2 separate regions of the Homo sapiens genome follow, and region 1 is linked to region 2. The links are contacts of gene promoters, found by promoter capture Hi-C in human tissues and cell types (Jung and others, 2019). All regions are on one chromosome and are shown on one strand. Each heading gives the region's core, a stretch centred on a gene start or on the middle of the fragment in contact. The rest is flanking DNA. Distances are from core to core; before and after follow the strand shown. Region 1 has its middle 140 kb from the start of CYP7B1. Region 2 holds the start of BHLHE22 (basic helix-loop-helix family member e22).

Evidence for each region. The method cuts DNA at HindIII sites, captures the fragments that hold promoters and counts their contacts. A contact is called where the count stands out against the background at its distance.
Region 1: a contact is called between a fragment that was not itself captured here and the fragment with the promoter of BHLHE22 in region 2, in 1 of the 25 tissues and cell types used here (dorsolateral prefrontal cortex).

The regions. Positions count from the first base shown.
Region 1 is chr8:64,934,419-64,937,118 of GRCh38, reverse strand. No RefSeq gene overlaps it. Among named protein-coding and RNA genes, the nearest start is that of CYP7B1, 140 kb to the right of the region's middle. The HindIII fragment of the contact is 3,935 bases long and covers 1-2,700 here.
Region 2 is chr8:64,579,057-64,581,756 of GRCh38, reverse strand. It overlaps BHLHE22 (basic helix-loop-helix family member e22), which reads right to left and starts at 1,392. Exons shown (of 1, transcript NM_152414.5): 1 at 1-1,392. The coding sequence starts at 966. LOC124900252 reads left to right here and starts at 1,745. Exons shown (of 2, transcript XM_047422518.1): 1 at 1,745-2,700. It overlaps BHLHE22-AS1 (BHLHE22 antisense RNA 1), which reads left to right. Exons shown (of 2, transcript NR_152770.1): 1 at 1-39. RefSeq lists an enhancer at 525-604. The HindIII fragment of the contact is 20,885 bases long and covers 1-2,700 here.

The DNA of each region.
Region 1 (2,700 bases), core at 81-2,580, 360 kb before region 2:
TGAACCTCTAAAGTCAGAGACTATACTGTATTTATATTGTTTGTGATCAGAACAGTGCTTGGCTTATCTAACAGATTAATTATAGTCCACAATATTTTACAAATTTAAAGTGTTTAATCATCTGTTCACACCTTATATAATTCTTAACTCTTTAGTTACATCACTATTTGTAGTCCCATAAATAAGAGTGATGACAACACTAAGACGTTGTTCTGTTAAAATAAACTTCTTATAAGAAGTAGAAAAAAAATTGTGTTCAGCTGGAAAAAGGAATTACTAAATTATGTATCTTTTACTTTGAGTAAAAAATGAGTTTTAAATGATTTATTTCTTGACCAGCTCTTCAAAGTCAGAAGCTTTCAGCCAGCATATCACTATAATGATAATACAATATACTAAATCAGTAGAATAAAGGATAAAAGCGACATGATCAATGGGCACAGGAGAAGATTATTGCATTAGTCACAATAGCTAAGATATGGAAACAACCTAAGCATCTATCAACAGATGAATAAATAAAATGTGGTATGCATACACAATGGAATATTATTTAGCCATAAAAAGAATGCAACTCTGTCATTTGCAGCAACGTGGACAGAACCAGAGGACATTATGTTAATGGGAGCTAAAACAATTGATTTCATGGAGATAGAGTAGAATGGTGGTTACCAGAGGTGGGGAAGGGTGGGAAGGGGTTAGTTAACTAGTACAAAAATACAGTTACATGGAAGGAATAAGTTTTAATGTTCAATAGCACAGTAGGGTGACTGTAGTTAACAATAATACATTATATGTTTCAAAACAGCTAAAAGAGAAGATTTGGAAAGTTCCCAACAAAGAAATGGTAAGTGTTTGAGATGATGGATATCTTAACTTCTCCGATTTGATCATTATACATTGTATTCATGTGTCAAAATATCAAATGTACTCCATAAATATGTACAACTATTATGTATCAATAACAAAAACTTTGTTAAATGAAAAAAGCCAGATACAAAAAGGTCCCATGTTATATGATTCCATTTATATGAACTATCCAGAAGAGGGGAATCCATAGAGACAGAAAGACCGGTAGTTGCCAGGGGATAGGAGGAATGGGATCAACTGCTAAGTGGCTACATATTTCCTTTTAGGGCAATGAAGAGGTTTTGGAATTGGATAGCAGTGGCAGTTGCACAAAATTGTAAATGTACTCAATGCTACTGGATTTTTCACTTTAGAAAAGTTAATTTTATGTTAGTTATTTTCATCTCAAAAAAAGCTAAAATAAAAAATTCAATATTCCTCCATGATAAAATCATGAAGGAAACTAGGAATAGAAGGGAAGTCCTCAATTTAATAAACAAAAGCTACTAAAAAACCATAGCTAACATCACACTTAACAGTGAAGCACTAAATGCTTTTCTTCTAAGGTCAGGAATAAGGAAAGGATATATACTCTCATGACTCCTTTTCAAAATTGTACTAGAGATTCTAGGCAGTACAACAGGCAAGAAAAATACATAAAAGGCATTCAGATAGGAAAGAAAGAAATGAGTCTATCTCTATTTGAAGATAAAGTGATTTGTATATAGAAAAACCTAAAAAATACACTAAAAGTATGAGCTAACAATCAAGCTTGACAAGTATGCAGGATACAAGATCAATATAAAAAATGAGTTATATTTCTACGCCATAGCAATAAACAAACTAAAAATAAAATTTAGGACACAATTCTACTTATGATAGCATTTGTAATAGCATAAAAAGAATAAAATACTTTGGAATAAATTTAATAAGTTATATAAAATGTATACTCTGAAAATTAGAAAATATTGTTGAAAGAAATTAAAGGAGACCTAAAGAGATGAAAGATATCCCTGAGCTCGTATATTGGAAGGTATAATATTGTTAAAGGGAAATACAGATTCGACACAATTCTCACTAAAATTGATCTATAGATTCAACACAAAAAGTAAAATTCCAACTGACTTATTTGCAGAAATTGATAAACTGAACTAAGATTCACATGCAAATGCTAAGTACCCAGAATAGGCAAAACAGTTCTTGAAAAAGAATAAAATGGGAGGATTCACACTTAGTACAAAGCTGCAGCAACCAAGACAGTGCAGTACTGGCATAGGATAAGACATACAGATCAATGGAATAGAATCAAGTTCATAAATATTTTACATTCACAGTCAATTGATTTTCAACAAGAATTCTAGGGCAATTACATGGGGGGAAAAGAATAATCTTTCAACAAATGGTGAGGGGACAAGTGGATACCCACATGCAAAATAATGAACTCAAAATTAACAAAAAAACAGAATGTAAGAGTTACAACTATAAAATTTTTAGAAGCAAACATGGGCATATATTTTTGAGATCTTAGATTAGGCAGTTATTTTTTTAGATATGACACAAAAAGTGTAAGCAATGAAAGAGAATGTACCTAAAGTGAACATAAAAATTAAGAACTTTCAGCCTTCAAAAAACACACCATAGAGAAAGTGAAAAGATAACTCATAGGATTGGAAAACATTTTTGCAAATCTTGTAAGGTAAGGTACTTGTAGATGTTGGAACTTTCCTACATTGCTGGTGTAAATGTAAAATAGTGCAGCCACTTTGGAAAACAGTCTGGCAGTTCCTCAAATGATTCAGTATAGAGTTACCAAAGGACCCAGGAGTATATACCCGAGGGAAAAGCAAACATATT
Region 2 (2,700 bases), core at 143-2,642:
GGGCAGGGAGGCAGCCGAGATGGCCTGGCCCTGGTTGAGGTAGGCGACTAGGCGCCGCATCTCCTCCAGGGCCTGCGCCTGCATGAGGATGTAGTTCTTGGCGAGCAGCAGCGTGGCGATCTTGGAGAGCTTTCGCACCGAGGGGCTGTGCGCGTAGGGGATCACCGCGCGCAGCTCGTCCAGCGCGTCGTTCAGGTCGTGCATCCGCCGGCGCTCTCGGGCATTGATGTTAAGCCGCAGCGCCTTTTGCTCTTTGGATTTCTTGCTGCTGCTGCTGCTGCTGCTGCTGCTGCCGCCGCTGCCGCTACCGCTACCGCCACCGCCGCCACTGCTACCGCTGCTGCTACCCCCGCCGCCGCCGCCGCCCAGGCCCCCCGGGGGGACGCTGGCGCCGCCGTGGAGGTGGGCATTGGAGCAGCCCTCGGCTGCCTTCGCGCCACCACCTCCCGCTCCCGGGGAGGCCCGCGGGTCGGCTACTCCGGCCCGCAGCACGAGCTCGCAGCGACCGTCGCTGTCGTCGTCGGGGCTCTGCTCGCCGCCGCTGCTCTCGGCCACCGAGCCCCGGCTCGCGCTTTCGCCGTACTTGAGGCAAAGGGCGGCCCCGGCCGGCAGGCTGCTTAGGCTAGGGTCGCCCCCAACGCCGGCTGAACCTACTAGCAGCCCGGGGACACCCACCCCGCCGCCGCCGCCGCCGCCACTTCCCGCGCTGCCGCCGCCGCCTCCTCCAGGCGGCGGCAACAGCAGCCCTGCCCCCTCGGGGTCAGCCGGCTCGAAGCAGCCCAGGGGCGACGAGGAGGAGGACGCCGGGCGTTCCCGAGGCGGCGGCGCCAGGGACAGGTCCATGCCCGGGGGCGTGGAGCGGAAAGCCGCTTCCAAGCGCTTGGAGGTGGAGGCGCTCAGGCTCTTGTGCAGGAAGAGGTCGTCCTCGCCGGCGGCCGCTGCACCGAGGTGCATCCCGCGCTCCATGGTCCCGCGCCGGCGCGCAGCCCGGGCCGCCGCGCCCGCTGCCGCCGCCGCCGCCTCGGCCCCGGAGTCAGGCGGCCCCACAGACGCGCGCGAGCTGGGCTCCGGAGCTGGTGCGCGCGTCGGTCCTGGTGCTGCCGGGAGCCCTCTCCCCTTCTTTCTTTTTCTTTTTCGCCTTCCCCCGCGCTCGCCGCCTCCTCTTCTTCTTCTTCTTCGTCTCCAGCCGATGGTGCTGGCTGCTGGGGCTCACCATGGGCCGCGGCCCCGCATGGTGGGAGGGTGGGCGCGGAGGGAGTGGAGCCGCCGCCGCCGCCGCTCTGAGCCCAGCCCCGCGCCTCCTCTCCGCACCGTTTATCTTGCTTGGATTCACCTTCAAGAGATTTCCGGACCCATCAAACAGCCGCCGCCACAGACGGGGGAGTCTTTTACATCATTATCTCTGAGTAGGTTATTATGAAGAAGACTCGCCTGTTGGGACAGCGCTTTCTACCCAATCAGGTTAACGTTTTAATTAATAGGATTAAAACGGTAACAAACAATCGCAGGCGCTATCTGGCCGCAAGTCTGAATAGTTTCATTTCCCAGGTCTGAAGACAGGCAGCAGCTAGAGCTTTATAAAAGGCGCCTGCTCCATTATTCTGCCTGCCATCTGTATACACAGCTTAGCGCATATGTTTGCAAGGCGCTGGGTCCTGTTAGTAACCCAACAACTGCCTTTAGCTTGACATGTGTGGCGACTTTCACTCATCAATGAGCACACTAAAAGCCCTACTTAGAGCCGAGGATGTTCTTTGCTCCTTCAGCAAATTGTAGATCGGCGGCGAAGCCTGGGAGTCCTGTGGAAAGCAGACGCCCCCACCCACCGCACCCCACCCCCCACTGCCCTTCCCTCGCCACTGCTGTCTCAGCTTGTGCTAAATTACCCTTCCGGGCGAGAATTATACTCCACCCCTGTTCGTAGGATGACTGGTCTGGATTTGGGGATGGGACTTTCCGAGAGAAGGTGGTGTCCCAGCTGGCTTGCCCAAAATTCACTCTAGGTTTTCAGCTGGTCAGAGAGCAAAGCAGTCGTCCCCCCGAACACTCTGCCTCGTTTCCACACCCGCCACTGCCCATTTCCTACCCAGATTGGAAAAAAAGAAAGAAAAAAGCAAAATGAAGAGCAAGTGATCATGCAGCCCATTTTTTTTTAAGGTGGGGTGGCAGTGATTTTGCAGTGGTCTCCAAATAACTGTTACAGTGATGGTAATTGTGAAGTACACAATTTCCTAAACAGGAAGAAAACAAACAAACAAACCGGTTTCTCAAACTTTCCTTAAGATGAAAATCTGATTGCTTCAAAAGAGTCAACTTCACCAGGAGTCAAATCCGCTCCCACACGAAGTGAGGCATTTATGCATATTTATTTACCCGGAAGCCATTTAAGGACATCTGGATCAGCCTCGGTTGTTCTTGGAGGGTTCGGGAAGGGAGAATGTAAAAACAAGTGCTCCTCTCCGGATGGGCACTGGTACACGCGGTCATCTCACTCCTGAGTTCGGTCTCTGGGTACACATGGTATTTAGCAGCTGGTTTTCATCCTTATGACATAAGTAAAAACAATATTTCCCAACACCTTCCAATAACTCTTTCTTATATGGCAGAAGTACTGAAGACTATGCAATTTTTGGTTTCTCTGGTTTCATTAAAAACCTTTTAATTGTGGCTTTCGGAGTTGGCCCCAGGTGTTGGACTCTT